Linked DNA regions of Homo sapiens: all the other regions are linked to region 3. Evidence: promoter capture Hi-C in 16 types of primary human blood cells and fetal thymus (Javierre and others, 2016). All regions are on one chromosome and are shown on one strand. Each heading gives the region's core, a stretch centred on a gene start or on the middle of the fragment in contact. The rest is flanking DNA. Distances are from core to core; before and after follow the strand shown. Region 1 has its middle 15 kb from the start of SLC36A4. Region 2 overlaps SLC36A4 (solute carrier family 36 member 4). Region 3 holds the start of SMCO4 (single-pass membrane protein with coiled-coil domains 4). Region 4 has its middle 55 kb from the start of DEUP1. Region 5 has its middle 54 kb from the start of SLC36A4. Region 6 overlaps SLC36A4 (solute carrier family 36 member 4).

Region 1 (3,200 bases), core at 79-2,578, 330 kb before region 3:
GAAACACAGCATACCAAAATTTATTGGACACACCAGAAGCATTTCTAAGAGTGAGGTTTATAACAATAAATGCCTAGATTAAGAAAAAGATCTCAAATAAACAACCTAACTTTATACCTCAAGGAAATAGAAAAAGAACAAAGCCTAAATTCAGTAGAAAGAAGGAAACAGCAAAGATCAGAGCAAAAATAAATGAAATAGAAGCTGAAAAGAACAACAGAAAAGATCAGTGAAACTAAGATATTAAAAATTAAACTTAAAAACAGAACTAGCACATGATGCCGCAGCCCCACTGTTGGGCATATATCCAAAAGAAATTAAATCAGTATATAGAAGAAATAGCTGTACTGTCATGTTCCTTCCAGCATTATTCACAATAATAAGATGTGTCCATTGATGGGTAAATGGATAAAGAAAACGTGGTATATAATATGTATATGTACACACAATGGTATTTTATTCAGCCTTAAAAAAGAATGAAATCCCGTCATTTCTAACAATATGAATGAACCTAGAGGCCACTTTGCTAAGTGAAATAAGCCAGGCATAGAAGAAAAATGCTGCATCATCTTACTTACATTGGGATCTTAAGAAGTTGAACTCATAGATGCAGAGAGTAGAACGGTAGTTGCTAAGAGCTGGGGGTGGAGGAAATAGGGAGATATTGGTGAAAGAGTACAAAGTCTCAGTTATGCAGCATGATGACTGCAGGTAATAATTCTCGAGTTTATACTTGAAATTTGCTGAGAGTAGATCTTAAATGTTCTCTCCACACATTCAGCAATAAAGATAACTATGCAAGGTGAGGGATATGTTCATTAGCTTAATATTGGTCATCATTTTCACAATGTATGCATATAACAAAAGATCATATTGGACACTGTAAATATATATAGTTTTCATCAATTATGCCTCAGTAAAATTAGAAATGGAAAGAAAGAAAAGACAAGCTTAGACAGACTCAGAGACTTACCCAAAATTTCACAGATCAAAACCAAATCTAATTTCAACTTTAGGACATATACTATTATCCACTCTGCCTCATAGCTTCTTGAGATCCTAAGCAGCTAAGCTGACAGGTTGTGAGAGCCACTCACAGTTCTGACCATTGGTCAGTGGTGTGATTTAGTCATTACAACATTGTACATTTCTGTCTATCCATTTTCATATAGCTAATGAAAGATTCAGAAGATCAGCCTGAAATCAGGTAACTGAGCTTCACTGATGGCGGTTAATTCCAACATAAATGCCACAACCAACATATTAAGCATTGTCTTCTGAAAATACTACTCTTTGAAGGACAATAAAAAAGTGACTTGGCCGGGCACAATGGCTTACGCCTATAATCTCAGCACTTTGGGAGGCCGAGGTGGGTGGATCACGAAGTCAGGAGATTGAGACCATCCTGGCTAACACGGTGAAACCCTGTCTCTACCAAAAACACAAAAAATTAGCCATAGTGGCATGCGCCTGTAGTCCCAGCTACTCAGGAGGCTGAGGCAGGAGAATCGCTTGAACCTGGGAGGCAGAGGTTGCAGTGAGCTGAAATCATGCCACTGCACTCCAGCCTGAGGGACAGAGCGAGACTCCGTCTCACAAAAAAAAAAAAAAAAAAAGTGACTTATGGTGAGTGCTGGAAAGGACACTTTTATTTTCCCACATGTAAGTTATTCCCTTTGGTATTTAACATGACTGGTAAAAGGCTTTAAAGCTTATAATAAATCTCAAGTGTACTCCCGAAGGCTCAAAAGAAAAAGGGTGCTTTACGAAATTTGCTTCTTTCCATTCTAAGCATTATGTATTGGTTAGACATTAACTTGCAAGGAAATTATTTCACTTGTGTTGTCTTCAAATAAAACTATTATCATGCCGAGTACAAAAGTCTGGGTTTTCTCTTGATGCTAAGGACTCATGATCCTCACATGTAAATTTAACTTGATAAGTCCTCTCTATTTCAGGATTTTAACATCAAGGTCTAGTTTGGGATTTAATTTGACAGGCTGTACCTGTCAGTTTTTGTATAGTTTACTTTCATCACAGTTCAAAAGGAGTGTGTGAAAGACTTACTTGTGGTAAGTAGGTCACCTGAGACACATGTTATGCATGAGGAATCCTGGAATTCCTGCTACCTGGGACACTTTTCATGATTATTCAAGGAGCTTGCTCACAATTTAATAACCTTGTTGACAATACCAACCACATTGGGAAAGAATAGTTCCATACTCATTTGGGAAATCTGCTTAAGAGATATAGATTCCCCATAGAACTGATCAGAGAAAATAAACACCAACATATATGTGCTTTTTGGTAATAAAAATAAGTGGCATGGAAGTTAGAAAGCTTCCATTCAGGAAAAAGGAGAAGTTCCAGTTGGAGGACTGCATTCTAGCCCATGCCCTCAGAAGATTTTGAGATAAGAGGTCCTTGGAAAAAGGTACCATTTAAGAAAATGTCACCAACCCATTTTCTTTAAGACCAGGCTGGTAGCCAATCACATTATGCTTCATTTATAGGATACTGTTCCTGTTAATTTTGTTTTTTAGTGATAACACACAATTGTTCCTCATCTGATTTTTCCCTCATAAAACAGCTAAGCATTTTGATCTGACTTTCTCAATAGACTGCATTCATTGTATAATAAATTAGATCAATGATTGATTACTTAATAATAGGCCATTGTATTAAGTCAAAGAAGTGAGAAATTGACCAAGAACAGTTCATTTTGTGTATTATAAATGGATACTAATCCATCCATCCTCTATTTAGGTCTTTGGGTTCCATTACTTATGTCAAGAGGCTATTTACAATCTAACAAGTTTGACCTTATCTCCATTGGTGATCTTTCAAATGTGGCTCTATAAGGAAACCAAAATACCTAGAATTACAGGATTTGGCATACTCCAAAACAACATCAGTGACCCATTCAGATTGAGAATTATTTAACATTCACTGTTCTAGGCATCATGCTTAGTGTTTTCTTATACGTTATCTCATTTAATCTTCACAATAACCCTACAGAAATAAATATTATGATCAATATTTTACAAATGAACAAACTGAGGTTCAGAGAAGAAGTAAATTCTAAGGCTTAGTAGTCACAAGAACCAAACCCAGGATCCCAATTCCAATCTGATGAATTTTTTTTTTTCCCCCTGAGACAGAGTTGCCCAGGCTGGAGTGTAGTGGTGTGATCTCAGCTC
Region 2 (2,794 bases), core at 125-2,624, 400 kb before region 3:
TGTTCTGTATGTTAACCAAATTATTTTATTCCTCAACAGATGGTATTGAGCCACTGATGCTATTTAAATAATTTTATTTATTATTTACACTAGCTCTATTTCAAATCTTCTCCTTTTAAATGAAGAAAGAAGTGAGGTCAAGACCTAGTTTGTGTATACTGTCAGTAAACAGATCCACTACTCAGATGCTGTACTGAAATCTATGAGAAGACATAAGTAAGCTATAGTAAGACTTGTGCCTTGCCACAGCTAGAAATGGCACTAATACTTTAATATTTCAAGTAATATTTTATAGTATTTTGCAGTTAAAGAGATTTTACATAACTACTATGAAACTACTAAGATTAGACACTGTTAGGAAATTCAAAACATGCACATTGACATACAACGCTTGTAAATATGTAAGTGCATTTTCCAGGCAAGATGCAGAAATCATTTTAATAACGGAGAATTTAGTGAGAATACGACTAAATATAATGTGGCATTTGCTAATACAGACTTGTTTTCATTTGGTAACATCATCTAAACTGGTTTTTAACCAAGAATACGCTGTAGCTCTTATTTTCTTAATTGTAAAGAAATCTGGCCATGTGGGGAAAAGAAGTCCCTCTGAAAAAAACGTCTGAGAACCAGTGTTTTGACAAGTTGACTCTGATACTGATGAAACTCTTGGGTGTAAGGGAACAGTGATTAACTGACTTGGAACGGAGCTCATTAGAGGTAAATAAAGCTTTCCTTTCTTTCCCCTCAGTAGCAGAAAAGTCTCTCAGGCAACTGATTAACTTTCAGGGAATAGTTCTTCACTGTGGTGGCCAACAAAATGCTGAAGTCATTTTAGTCACAGTGTGATGATCCAAAAGTGATGAGATACAAAATTTGACAGGTGCAATCACTCTCATTTCTCCAGGCTCCCAAAATAAAAGCAAGAGCTGGTATAATCGAAATATCGTCTCCAAAATCTTTAGGAAATTTTACGACTTATTAAAGCTAAATTTTCAGAGAAAAAATTACCCACTGGTTATTTTTGCAAATAAAATGCATCATCAAATACCCTTAATAAGAATACATTTAAGCTTTCCATCTAAATAGTGTTTCTTGTTGAGAATTAAAACTTTCTTCCTTTTTAGCCCCTCTTCTTTTCTGCAATTCAACTTTTTCTTGTATTTAAAGTATTCATCATTTATTGAATTTAGTACTGGATGTTGATTCACCATTCTTATTGCTAAAGGAAGCCTGATTGATAATATACTCAAGATGAGTTTGTGCTGAATTTAAAAATTATTTATTGCTATGATCAATTTTATTCAAATTTCATTGCATTTGATGAATTCCTTAAGGAAAATAAACAATGGGCCAAAGTGTAAAAATTAAATAACATACATAGACTAGAAATATTATCTGAAAACAGGTGACAAAAATCTAATGCTGCTTCCTATTAAATAATAATTTTCAACTCATTTTATATCAAGCTATAAAGTTTTTTAAACATCTAATTCAAGATTATATAATACTAGTTTCAGTGAAGATTCGTTTTCCTATAACTTCTTCTGCATTCTCTTAGTATGACTAAAGGCTCAGTGTAACAGAATTGATATAAAAGTATCTCAAACAATTACTGTTGATACCTAATGTGAATGGTTAAAAAAGTTTTGATTCTTATGACTTTGTACCAAAATAAAGCTTCTGATATATCTTTAGGATTGTATTTGATGATCAGTTAACGATACAAGCAAAAAATACTTGAACTAAGTTAACATTTACATATAAAAATAGAGAATATATACAACTATAGTGATCTTGATGATATCTTCAAGTATGGTATACTAACAAACTAGAGTATCACCAGCCTGAGTAAACAGTTCATGTTTTAAAGTCTAAATTGTTTTTAAAGTCAGAAGACAATTCTATTCTTAATAATTTTCATTTTCCCCACTAACTGAGAGATTCTTTATCTTGGTTAATAACTTGAAAAATATGGAATAATTAGAAGTTATTTGTCTGAAAGAAGCCTGGAGTGTCTCAATATTTAGAAGGGAGTTTATGGATTTTTTCTAAGCATGAATCCCTTTATGTTATGATTCTTGTATATATTTATTGTTGTTTTAGTTTTTAAGAGTTGGGATCTCCCTCTGTAACTCAGGCTGGTGTGCAGTGGCACAGTCATAGCTTACCACAGCCTGAAACTTTTGTGCTCGAGGGATCCTCCTGCTTCAGCCTCCTCAGTAGCTGGGACTACAGGTACACGCCACATCAGGCTAATTTTTTTTTAAATTTTTATGTTTTATAGAGTCGAGGTCTCACTATGCTGCCCAGGCTGGTCTCAAGCTCCTGGCCTCTCAAGTGATCCTCCCAACTTATCCTCCAGAGTAGCTGGGATTATAAGCACAGACCACCACACCTAGCTGATTCTTTTATTCTGCTCATAATAAATAAAAGGCTGTGATAAGAAAAGCCACAGGGCTGGAAAGAGTCCACAAATCCTCCGTTTTCTGAGGTGTCTATTTTCTGCCATTCAGGAATGTGGTGCCTACAAAACTCAGGAAAGGAAGGTAATAATTAAAAAAGCTCAAGCCACAAATAGTATAGCTAGACACACATCTTACTAGCCAGGAGTTTCACCAGCAAGCGGTCTCTATTCTGTTTTAAAAGAACATAGCTTCTTTCTCTTGCTGAGGTTTATATGGCCACAGTGTAGGCTTCTTGGAGTTCCCTGATTTTCTGCTCAGGTCACATATACTATTAAAAATCACACATTCATTTTCAAAGTATTAAAATATAATCAAATAGATTCAAC
Region 3 (3,144 bases), core at 392-2,891:
TTGCTTTTTGCAATATTTCTTCTCATATTTTATTTTAAATCTAAGCTAATTTCTTTATAAGAACAGGCTAAGGCTTATTTTCTGTGGCTGATCCAGCCTTACAAGAAAAAAGATTTCACTGTGTCCCTCAGAAACCTACTCCTGTCTACATCACACTGTCGAGCTCTCTCTTTATACCCCATGTGACAGATAAGAAAACAGAAGTCCAGAGAGAGCAAGTGACTCATCCAAGGTCAAACTTCTTGCTAACACATCTAGGACGAGAATAAGGGCTCAAGAAGCCCACTATGGGTCTCTTGCCGTATCACTGCTGCAAATGACCAGGCATACTGGTGTCTTGAATACAAAGTTTATTTGTAAAGGGGAAAAAAAAAAAGCCAACATGAGTCATCTGCATTGTCAACGGGCTCCACACAGGTTGTTCTAATAAAGCATCCAGCACCTCCAGAACCACTTGTTTCTGAAAGCACCAACCTACGCAGACACTAGCAGGCCATGTCTTCCACCCTTGCCACCCTCGAGGCTGTGAGCAGATGCGCTGTTGGGCTCTGGGGATCTAGAGGTGTCACTTAAAGAGCAAGGGAGCCTGGAGCTTGGCAGTACTGACTGGATGAGTGGATGGGTGGGTGTATGAGGACATGGGAGTGTTTTCTGACAGCTCCCGGAGATAGTTATGATATCATGCAGCCTAATCCCACTCATCTTGGAACACCCCAAACATCTCATCCGCTCAGCTGTCCCTCCTCAACTTCCTCAGGGCAAAAGCACTGCAGTCTGAGGTGAATCTGGCCGCTGGGGAGGGGCGGTAGTCGGCCCCAGCAGCAGAGGAAGCAACGCTCAGCTCCCTCCTCCACCCACCCCGTACAGGAACTCCCCACTGGGTCTTCAGATGCCAGAGGCGTACCCAGCTCGGAGCCTGCCCCGGGTCTCAGGGTCGGTCCCGAAAGAACGGGGGAGGAGGAAGGCTCTATCCCGCCCCCGCCTCACCTCTACTCCCCGACCCCCAGGCGCCGACCCTTCTCACCCGCAAGGTCCGCCGCCGGACTCTTGTCCACTCCCAGAGACCCTGAGCGCACCCCTTTCTCGGCGTCCTCAAAGGACCCGCGTTTCCCACCTTCCCATACGGGGCCCTCCCGGCCGCCCCGGCCCAAGCCCTTTGCACTGCGTCCCCCGGCCCCTGAGTCCGCCCCGCACCCGCACTTCCCGCCCGGCCCCGCGGGCTCGCGGTCCGCCCCAACTTTTCCCAGCCCCCGCCCCGCAGCAACCGGGATGCAGCGTCTCGAGCCGCGACGGGCAGGCGAGCTCGAGTCCCTCGGGCCCCCAACCCCGCCCGCACGAGTTGCGCTCGGGACCCGCCGGGCGCCCAGGCCTGGGTCAGCAGCACTGCGCGGAGGCGGAGCCGGCGTGGCGGGAACCGTACTGTCCCGGCGCCGCACCCCCGCCCGGTGCCCGGTGCCCCGTGCCCCGCGCCCGCCCGCCGGCTCGCCCGCCCCGCCGCCGCCGCCGCCGCGCCGCTCCCAGCCCACCTGCCCGCGGGCGCCGCCGCCGCCGCCGCCACCACTGCCGGGAATACGTGGCAGTGGCCGCCGCCGCTTGCGCTCCCCGCCTCGCCTCTCCTCTCGGCGCCCGCGCGGGCGACTCTGGCGCGCCAGACCGCAGCGCCAGGCGCCCTCTGCCGCCGGGAAGCCGAATCCTCCCGTCCTAACCCTAACTCGCTGGCTGCCCCCGCCCGGGCCTCGGCTCCCGCCCCCTCTTCCCCGTTCCCGGCTCAGACTGTCGCTTCCGAGCGACCTGGGTTCTCGCCCGGCCTGCTGCTGCCGCTGCCTCCAGGAAGTTCGCCCTGACCACCTCTGCAGGCTCAGCGCGCTTCCTCCGGCTCCCGCGCAGCGGGTGCTTAAGTCACCCCCTTGTTGATATATTTCCTGCTTCTTTGAACGCCTCGCCCGTGAGATAGCAGAATCGGAAAGGGGATAGTTGGAGGCAAACGCCATGTCTGTTGTGTTCACCATTCTCTCCTCCAGGGCAAGGTTAGCGCCCTGTCTGGAATACTGAAGTGCGCAATAAATACTTGTGAAGAGAGCAAACGAGTAGATGAATGAGTTGAGACTTTTACCGCTGTCTACCCAAGTAGGCTTTGAAACCTCAAGCGGACAGAGATCCTGACCTGGATTTGTTTTTTGTAACTTACACGTGCATATGTGTGCGCAGCTCAGCATAAATAAATGAGATTCACAATTCCCCACCTCGGACCAGCGCCAAATCCGCAAGAGGCCCACGGCTAAATGTTATTCAGGGCTTTTGGTCAAACACGTTTAGGTTTGAGATCTACCTCTTAAAAGCTGGGCAATCGCGGGAAAGCTCATCTCCCTGGCCCACAGTGAACACGTCTATAAATTAAGAATAATAAAACCTACTTCACAGAGTTGTGAGAATTAATTGAGATGGTGCACTATAAAGTTCTTTACGCAGCCCCGATGTGTGCGGTGGTATGTAAATGGTAGTTATTGTTGTATTACTACTGATGCAGTAGGTGATTTTAAAAACTATCTTCGAAATGTAAAATATTGACTACCTTTTCACCTTAAAACCTTTATATGTGTGGTATTGTCACCTGCTCAGCAAGGCCAGCCCGGGGAGCAAGGCCACTCCTGTAACCTCTTCCCCTCCACCGGTAAAAATATAACAAGTCTTGGGGTTTTTTTGTTCTGTTTTGAAGAATTGTGGAACCCACTCTTCTGCAGGTTTTCCACCTGGATTTCTGTGGCCAATCTCTTAATTAACAAGTTTTTATTTTAGGGATGTCAAAGACAGGGAGCCCTTTGAAAGCACCTGCAGTCTACTGGCTCTTCCTGTTTTCTTCCTGACCCTCTCTCAAACAACTTAAGGCTTTTTTTTTCATTTTTACAGGAAGTGTCCTTCCTGCTGCGTACAAAAGGCAGCAATGCAGTAGAGTGGGATCAGAGGGGATTGGGCTGCATACACCTTGGGCTTTCTGCACCTCAGTCCCCTCAACGGTAAACTGTGGAGAATAAGACCTTGTCACATTGGGAGATCATTCATGATCCGGTCTGTGAAGGAAATAAGGAAATACCTGAAACACAAAGATATTTAATAAAAGGCAACTATTGATCAGTTTATTTAGCA
Region 4 (3,037 bases), core at 454-2,953, 270 kb before region 3:
AGGTGATTTGCATACACATTAAATCTTGCAACATCTCGGCCTTATCACAGCCTACTGCCTCCATGTACATGGGACAGTGGAGCTGCTTTTACATCCAGGCCCACGGAACCATTCTCAAAGGGATCCTGTAAACTCTGAACAACCTGACTGAGGTAAAACATAGAGCAAAGCTCTGAGACAAAATGACCTCAAGGTTATTTGCTATACAGAATTGGGGTAGATACTAGTTCATGAAAAGAAACAATTCCAAGCCAGAGAGGACAAGAGTCAAGGCCATCCTTTGAATATAACTTCCATTCAATTTAAGAAACCTGGAAAACATCCAAGTATGATCTTAGGGCTATAGTCATGAAATGCTAAAAGCCACTGCTGGGTCAGAATAAACTGAAAAGAAGCATAAATGTCACCTGAATAGAATATAAGAATGTATGTCATCCAGAGGTTAGTATATTAATGGAATTGAAGATGTAAAGTACAAGAAGTCATTATGGTACTTTATTCAATTATTTTTAGAAAAATCGGTTACTAAAGCCAAAGCAGAAAAAGTTGTATATGAATTGTGTTTTGATTTGGTTAAGCCAGACTTGGATACATTTATTATTCAATAAGGCAAACATTTATTGAATCCTCCTGTGTGCCAGGTACAGTGGGTATAAAAATAAATAAGACATAATATTTGTTCTCAAGAAATTCACAGAAGAAACACACACACACACACACACACACACACACACACTTTATGCTTTTTTAAATGGCGCAATACAGGATAATGAGACAAAATCTGTTACAGAGACAAAGAGAAAGAAGCAACCACATTGATGAGTAGAATGAATTGAAAATTCAGAAAATACAAAGAGCAGAGAGAAGAAAATAAAAAGCATATATAGTCCCATCACAGACTTTCCCAGTTAAAATTTTGCCATATGCCCTTTGAGACTTTTTCCCATGTACATATCTCTATCTTGTATTTATTTCTGATTTATCAATTGAAGCAACTGGAATTGCTCATTTTGCAGGTTAAACATGACTAATGACAACTTCAGATGGTTCAACCTAACACTTCTGAAAATGTCTGGGGATAACTTATAATAGTAAAATATATAAAACAGGTCATTTTTTTAAAAAATAAAAACAAACATCTTGACAACAGCAGTCATATAAATGGTCCCAGGCATCTGAGATCCATTAGTTGCTGCCTTTGCTCTTTATACTGTAGCTATGAGATTCCTGGCAGCTAGGAAAATACAGAAAAGCTATTCTGTTATTAAAATCATCTTTATATTGAAAGGAATCATATGTTGTTTACTTGGAAAAATAGATTTTTTCCTCCCTGTGAAATGAAAGGGATTTATTATTTTAAATGATGTTCTTTAAATGACTCTCCATTAGAGCAAAAACTGTAATACTAAATCTTTACTCAACGATGACCTAATTTAATGCTGGGAGAGGATTTCAAGAAGATGAAAACTAACAAGTTTCTCAGAGTCACTCTCAGATACTGCTTCAAGTAAGCTTTTAGCAGGTACTCACTCACAATCAGATTAGCTCCTAAATTCTCTTGAAGTGCTGATAATATTTGTCCTTAAGAGCACTCCATGTGTTGTTGGTTCTAGAAATGTTGTCAGAGTTAACTTTCTGCTATGGCAATTAATTTACTAACATGATCCTTCCCCAAACAAAAGATCCCTTCTGTGTTAGTTTTGCTCAAAGAGTGAGGGCCAGAGATGTGCTCAGGTGACTTCTGTGGGGAAATGTCATACCATCAAGCTAATGAGAGCTGGAATGTTGACTATCAGGGACACTCAGTGTGCCCCAGCATCTCTGTGACCTCGCCTTAGCCCTAGTAACATGGTTGTCCTCTCACCCTTCCTGGTTCCTGCTAACACTCACTTTCCTAAGCTTTTTCTCTCTTTACTTCTTTTCTATTTCTGCCTCTTCCATCCTCCATAAGAGGCACATTCAAGATACCCTCTACAAGGAGAAGATTTGATTGAGAAATCATTTAATGTGGAGCAGAGTCAGCCATAGAGTAGGAGGAGGGCACCACATGGACTATGGGTGAAGAAGGAGGGTGGGAGAATCAGGCAGACAGAAAGACCCAGGGTTCAAGCCCCTGCAACTCCATTTGCCAGTCTATGAACTGGACCCATGACTAAGCCTCTGGAATGCTATGGTCTGGGTGAGACACGTGCATTTAAAACTGAATGATTATTGCACATGTTTGAATCCTGTTAGGGTATCTCTGTGGCTACATGTGTGTTATTACTAAGATGGATTTAGTAATATTGTAACCAATCTCCTAGGACTGTTGTGAAGATTAAATCAAAGCAATCATCAAGTGAAGATCTCAGCAGTGTTTGACTCACAGTAAGTGCTCATTAAATATTTAGCTACTATTACTATGTTCAGCTGTTGATAGTTACCTTTGGCCTCAATTTCTGGTTCAATCTATTTCAGCCAGGTAATAGGGTCACATGACACAAATCCTAGTAACTTGGGGTACCAGGAATCGTCTTTTCTCCTAAAGTGATGATGAACATGACTTGTGCTTCGTGTTTTACCTGTTCAGGAAGATCCCATTTTTGTATGAAGATGGGCTGTAGACAGGCTTACAGATAGCAACAATTCTGCAAAGGGAGGTATGAGTCTGCTTAGATACTAGAACAAGCATTCAACAAGAGAGAAGCATATAGCATTGTAAGGCCTGAGTGATAAGATTTGGGCTTTAAATCATTAAATACATTATTATAAACTGTCTTATTTGACAGTAAAAGGAAAGAGCCAGTAAAATAGTATCCTGAGGAACTGTCCAGGATTTATCTACCATTGTTTCCTAATCATTTCTTAGACATATATCTTGATACCACATCTACAAGAGCTTAAGAATAGAAAACCATGAATTTTTATTTCTTTTTATTTCCCCCAGATTCTTAGGCAAATGATAGATTCTCAAATAGCAGTTGTAACCTGTCTTGTTGAAGACAGATAAATATTTATTCATGTGGTAAATAAAAATACCTGCATTTTTTATTTTTTG
Region 5 (3,080 bases), core at 368-2,867, 290 kb before region 3:
TGAGGACTTGCTAATGAGGTGCTAGCCTGGACACTGAGAAGAGAATTTTCAGACGATACTTAAGTGCCTCCAGAGAATGAGCTGTTGATACTGTATTAGATGCCATGAGACAACACCCAGATGCTCCTTCAAGATCAAGGAACCCCCCAGCTTTGGGTAGTGTCGCCAGCTGACAGCTTGCCAGCCTTCTCCAGAAATTGCACTCAGTTGAAGGTAGCTGCCTTGCTCAAATGTATGCCCCCACCGCACTCAGAAGTAGCCTGTATCTAGTCACTATGGGGGTACAAAGGCCTGGTGTCTTGCTTTTATTCATATCATCTCTGAAAGGCCATTCTAGTTCACAGCCAATTTTCAGTCAAGGAACCTACTGAATGAAAGAGAGACCAAGTCCCCATAAGGAAAAAACTTGCAACACTATGGCAAGTATATGAAGGTAATCAGTCTCTCAGCCCTTCCTCAAAGTGACCTATAGCCATTTAGTCATATACTGAAAGGACAATATCCAGATGTTTCAAAGATTGTTGAACACTGAATCTATGTTGACACTGATACCCATATGATCCACTGAAGCCTCTGTTGCAACTATAACACCATGGCTCCTTCATTAGATGGGGTCATAAGGGGATAAAGTATAAATGGAGTCATGCTCCAGGTCCTCGTTCATTGTGTGTTCACTGGCTCCATGGACCCACCCAGTGGTCATTTCCCCAGTCCCTGAATATAGAATTGAAATTAGTATCCTTGGTAATTGCTTGAACCTTCACATTTGTTCTTTTCTCTGTGAGGTAACAGCTATTGTGGTGGGGAAAGCCAAATAGGAGCCTTTGAAACTTCCTTTCTCCCCACCTAAGATTGTAAAATCAAAACAATATCAGTTGATGAGGGGAATGGCAGAGATTAGTGCTACCCTTAAAGACCTACAGGATACAGAGCTCTCCATCATATCCTCATTCATTTAATTCACTAGTCTGGTCCCTATAAAAAACAAACAGATCCTGGAGAATGAAAGCAGATTACTACAAACTCAACCAAGTAGCACTGGTTGACATATATTCTTGGAATGGGGTTACCCTTCCTGCCTGCTTGGCTTCAGCAAGCACCACTATCTGAGGGCATGGAGTGAACTGACCTGTTGACATGGGCTCCTAAATAATGTTGCAATTGACCAAGGGACCCATTGTATAATAAAGGGATATATATCATGGGACCTATTGGTCCTATTTCATATTGCCGCACCCAGAAGATGTTGGCCTGATACAGCAACAGAATTGCTCTTTGAAGGCACAATTAGGCACTAGATTAGAGATGATGCTGTATGCGTATAGGGCTCCATCCTTAGGGCCCAGTATATACCCTAAACCAGTGACTATTATACAGTGTTATATCTCCAATATGCAGACCGCATGGGTCCAAAAAACAAGGAAGGGCGACAAAAGTAGTCCACTTATCATCACTCCTCGTGACCCACATGGATAATTTATTCTTCCATTTCCACAACTCTAGGCTCTACATGACTACAAGTTCTGATTCCCAGATGTAAAATGTTTCCACCATGGAACGAACAAGAGTGCCAATGAAGTTCAAGCTATGGATGTCACCTACTCTCTTCAGGCTCCTTTGCTAAGGCCAGTAGGCAAGATAAGGAGTTGCCAGCCTGGAGGTAATTCACCCTCACCAACAGGAGGCAGGAGGACTGCTCTTACACAGCAAATGATCATCACAGCATGCCAGAGGACCTTTGTGCTTCAGTGGCTAAGGGAGTGATAAGATTTCAAAGATAAACTTTGACTTCTTTCTCTAAAAGGAATTACAGGCTCTTGGAGAAAAAACTGTAAGTCTTAAATTTCACTTTTTATTGATATATAATGGTTGCACATATTTATAGGGTATGTGTGATATTTTGATACATGTGAACAATGTGTAATGACCAAATCAGGGTAACTGGGTTATTCATCACCTCAAATAATGATCATTTCTTTGTGTTTAGAATGTTCCAAAGATTCTCTTCTAGCTATTTTGAATTATACAATTAATTGTTTTTAACTATAGTCTCCCTACTGTGTGTGCCATTGAACACGGGTACTTCTTCCTCCTATCTAACTGTATTTTTGTATCCATTAACCAACATCTCTTAATTCCCTATTTTTCCTACCCTTCCCAGACTCTAGTAACCACCACTCTACTCTCCACCTCCCCAAGACCACTCCCACATATGAGTGAGAACATGGAATATTTGTCTTTCTGTGCTTCACTTATTTAACTTAACATAATGTCTTCCAGTTTCATCCATGTTGCTGCAAATGATAGGATTTCATTCATTTTATGACTTAATAATATTTTATTGTGTATATATAGCATTTTTTATCCATTCAGCCTAATCATCAGGGAAATGCAAATCAAAACCATAGTGAGATACAGTTAAAATAGCTATTACCAAAAAGACAGAAAATGCTGGCAAGGATGTGGAGAAAGGAGAATGCTCACACACTGTTTGTGGGAATGTAAATTAGTATGGCTGTTCTACTTTATATTTTTTAATTATTATGTTAGTTTACTACTTTTAAACCTGACTTGGCTAAAGATTATGTATTTTTGAGTATCTTAAATGTGCAGAACTCTGATCCTAACTAAAAAAATCCCATTAGCCAGCAATTTCATCTTTGGTAAACACTCCTTTACAAACTCTAGTATATATTGTGAAAGTTATCAGAATCAAAGTGTAGTCACTAATGTTAAGAAAACTCTGACACATATAGCCAGAGAAGGCCATGAAGAGAAGATTCTCATGATTGTATGCCTAACAATGAAAAAGACTCCACAAAAACTACAGCATTGCACAAAAGCCATTGCAATCTTAGATCAAAAATACTTCTGCAAGGACATCTGCCTGGCAATGGCTTATTCAACCTTGGACTGATGTCAGTCTTGCTATTAATCTTTGTAGCTAAGAATAATTATTTCAAAACAGTTATGTAATCTTCCTCATTTTTTCCCTTTAAAAACCTTTGTCTTCCTTTACCTCCCTGAATATACACATTGTTCACTATGACATACGTATTCCCATTGCAATACTATATTCC
Region 6 (2,805 bases), core at 106-2,605, 380 kb before region 3:
GGAGCTACCTGAATGGCAATATTTAATATCTTAGAATCCTCAGAATCTTTGGAGTCTCTCTTGGTATTAGCTTTATAACACTGTTTCTCAAAACAAACATTATATTCATAAAACTATAGGGAGAATTTACATCCAACTTTTTATATAGCAGTGATTCTGCAACTATTCTGATTACCTTCAGATAATCTCATCTATAAAATATGCTTCAGATGTGCCTGAGTATGTGGGATATAGATTTTTTTTAAACTGGCCTTGAGTTAATAATTTTTGAAGCCAGGTGATGTTTACATAGTTCATTATACTACTCTCTAAATTTTGTATAGGTTTGAAATTTTCCATAATAAAATGTTAAAAATGATCTGGCTAATTTCTTCATTTTATAGATAAATAAAAAGAGAAGTAGAGAGCCTAAGTGGTATGTCTAACATTAAGTTCTTTGTTAATGGAAGGACTAAACTATAATTCTAATCTATCACACCAAATTGGAAATCATGTAAAGAAAATTGAAATAAAAAAGAAAAATATGCAATTTTAAATACAGGTAGGCTATATAAATCATTGTGCTGAATTAAGATTTTAAAAAATAATAATAAAGACTAAATTCTTACCACTCCTATGCCTTCAAAAGCAAATACAGCAGTACCAAAAAAGAGTGGGTATTTCTTCCAACCAGCCACTATTGGAAGGTTGTGGGGATCTGGCATGTTCTAAAGAAAGGAAGAAAAAAAGAAGACCAGTTACATCTTTACTTATTCTAAATAATTAAAAAATGTAAGAAAAATCATATAATTTTGAGCTTCACAACAGCAAATGTGTTATAAAATTGAATAATTGTTTCAACAAACACTTAAAGCATCCTCTGTTAAATGTAGCCAAGCTGTTAGGATTTCACTGCCAAAAGCAATTGTTTCCCTCATGCCCATACATTCCATCTGAGCAAAATGCTCCTGATTACCTGCTTCCACCTGCAAGTCCCAGGCTGTGAACACTAGGTATGGCTCCTGCCACAACAGGAAATACATAAGCACACTCAAGGCCTAAGCTGAGAGCCATATAGTCAAGTTATCAACCACTGCTGCTGGTGCCTAGCAGAAATTCATTCTCCACTCTATTTTTATTGCTCTTTCAGTTCTCTAAGATACCTGGTTCCTGACACTGGCTTTCTACCTTATAGCTCTGCTGCTGCCCAAAACAGGTTTCCTTCTTGCTTCAGTGCTTACTATTTGATTTGATGGTTGTCATTACCCTTATTATTTGAATATATATGTCCTGACTCTGGCTTTGATTGCTTGGTCCTGACTCACAGGCTTATTCCAAATCTCACCATCCGGACAAAGTACACATTGGCTCTAAATGGCCACTTCTTCCAGATACCCCAAGTCTGGTCCCTACTCTTCTCACCATCTTACATTCTCTGCTTTGCCTGATTGGAAGCAGAATTCAAGGCCAAGTAAAAAGAATGAACAAAGCAACTGAAGTGTGAAAGCTCTAGGATAATTTGGGGAATAGAGAGATCTAGAATATCTGAAGCATAGATAGAACTGTGTGATATACTGGTGATACATGTCTAAAACCATATACTGGGTTTAGAATGAAAGGGTATTACAATGTTTGGCTCATTCAATGCTAAACTATTATTTAAGGCAAGCAGGATGCTATTTCACTTCTCCCAACAGCAGCTCACGCTGTTCCTTCTATTTTGGAAACCTCCTTTTCTGCTTAACTGACTCTTACATGTTTAGCTAAGGGGTCATGAACTCCGGAAAGCCTATATGAACTTCCTGTCTGTTTCCTCCCACTCAGTGCTATAAGAGAAACTACAACTTTTGAAAATCAAAGAGGAGGGAAATGAAACACAGATCCATAATAAGAATTTTTAATAAATTGCTAATGAAGATTTTACAACAATTACCTTGGAAATAATATATAAGATTAATTAGATCAGGAGTGACTAGAACAGGGATTCTCAACCTTTTTTGTGTCTTTGACACCTTTGCAAGATGAAAGCTATACAACTGCTCAACAGCAAAACACATACATACATACAGAAATACTAAATCTTGCAAACTATTTTAAGGGATTTGAAGAATCCCTGAATCCCATCAATAGATTATTTTATGGAAACTGGGTTAAGAATCCCCAGACTATGGACAATGAAATCAGTTGATGTTATTGCATATACTTCAGGTAAAGGGATTACAGACTAGTGTAGTGGCAGTGGACTGAAGCAGTGGCAGCAAATAAAAGTTCAGAAGTGAAAGGAAATTATGGAATTGCATATATATATATTAATGAGTACCTGGTTTCATGTTTGGCACTGTACTAAGAACACAATCCTAAGTCTCATAACTCTAATAGGGTAGGCATTACTATCTTCTGAAGCACTGTCACAAAGCCCAGAGGCGTTATTTACCAAGATTCAAGATCTGACCACAAAGCCTGTTTAATCTCTATGTCATATACTTTTCTAACTCAGCAGCATCCCCCTAAAAGAAACCAACATTTACTGATTGCACACTGTGTGCCACATATGAAGTAGGGGTCTTTGCATATCATTACTTTTACCTCCACAGTAAACAAAATTTTACTTACATAAGAAAGATAAGAACTTAGTTAAAAACTTTTTATACTTACCCTGACAACATACTGGTAAATTATCACAAGACTGACAGCCATGGAAACGTTGGCAAGGAATGAAAGTACAAATAGATTCTTTAGTTCACGAATGAAGACCAAAAGAATTATAAATGGAAGAAAGCAAAGCATATATATCCTTAGGTCAACACTTCTTCTCTCACAAGGGTT

The links. Contacts are between HindIII fragments. The CHiCAGO score rates a contact against its expected background, and 5 or more counts as called.
Region 1: a fragment that was not itself captured here is called in contact with the fragment with the promoter of SMCO4 in region 3 in 3 of 17 cell types (monocytes, erythroblasts and endothelial precursors); the score reaches 7.6 in monocytes.
Region 2: a fragment that was not itself captured here is called in contact with the fragment with the promoter of SMCO4 in region 3 in 2 of 17 cell types (monocytes and megakaryocytes); the score reaches 6.9 in monocytes.
Region 4: a contact is called between a fragment that was not itself captured here and the fragment with the promoter of SMCO4 in region 3, in 1 of 17 cell types (monocytes). The highest score is 5.2, in monocytes.
Region 5: a contact is called between a fragment that was not itself captured here and the fragment with the promoter of SMCO4 in region 3, in 9 of 17 cell types (endothelial precursors, megakaryocytes, erythroblasts and 6 more). The highest score is 10.3, in endothelial precursors.
Region 6: a fragment that was not itself captured here is called in contact with the fragment with the promoter of SMCO4 in region 3 in 1 of 17 cell types (monocytes); the score reaches 5.8 in monocytes.

What each region holds. Positions count from the first base shown.
Region 1 is chr11:93,211,719-93,214,918 of GRCh38, forward strand. No RefSeq gene overlaps it. Among named protein-coding and RNA genes, the nearest start is that of SLC36A4, 15 kb to the left of the region's middle. The HindIII fragment of the contact is 761 bases long and covers 949-1,709 here.
Region 2 is chr11:93,144,883-93,147,676 of GRCh38, forward strand. It overlaps SLC36A4 (solute carrier family 36 member 4), which reads right to left. Exons shown (of 11, transcript NM_152313.4): 11 at 1-2,794. Among named protein-coding and RNA genes, the nearest start is that of SLC36A4, 52 kb to the right of the region's middle. The HindIII fragment of the contact is 607 bases long and covers 1,072-1,678 here.
Region 3 is chr11:93,541,750-93,544,893 of GRCh38, forward strand. SMCO4 (single-pass membrane protein with coiled-coil domains 4) reads right to left here and starts at 1,642. Exons shown (of 3, transcript NM_020179.3): 1 at 1,527-1,642. RefSeq lists silencers at 1,133-1,372, 1,503-1,552, 1,713-1,842. The HindIII fragment of the contact is 4,665 bases long and covers 1-3,144 here.
Region 4 is chr11:93,273,835-93,276,871 of GRCh38, forward strand. No RefSeq gene overlaps it. Among named protein-coding and RNA genes, the nearest start is that of DEUP1, 55 kb to the right of the region's middle. The HindIII fragment of the contact is 387 bases long and covers 1,511-1,897 here.
Region 5 is chr11:93,250,429-93,253,508 of GRCh38, forward strand. No RefSeq gene overlaps it. Among named protein-coding and RNA genes, the nearest start is that of SLC36A4, 54 kb to the left of the region's middle. The HindIII fragment of the contact is 4,790 bases long and covers 1-3,080 here.
Region 6 is chr11:93,165,310-93,168,114 of GRCh38, forward strand. SLC36A4 (solute carrier family 36 member 4) reads right to left here. Exons shown (of 11, transcript NM_152313.4): 7 at 2,635-2,805; 8 at 609-707. Among named protein-coding and RNA genes, the nearest start is that of SLC36A4, 31 kb to the right of the region's middle. The HindIII fragment of the contact is 3,601 bases long and covers 1-2,805 here.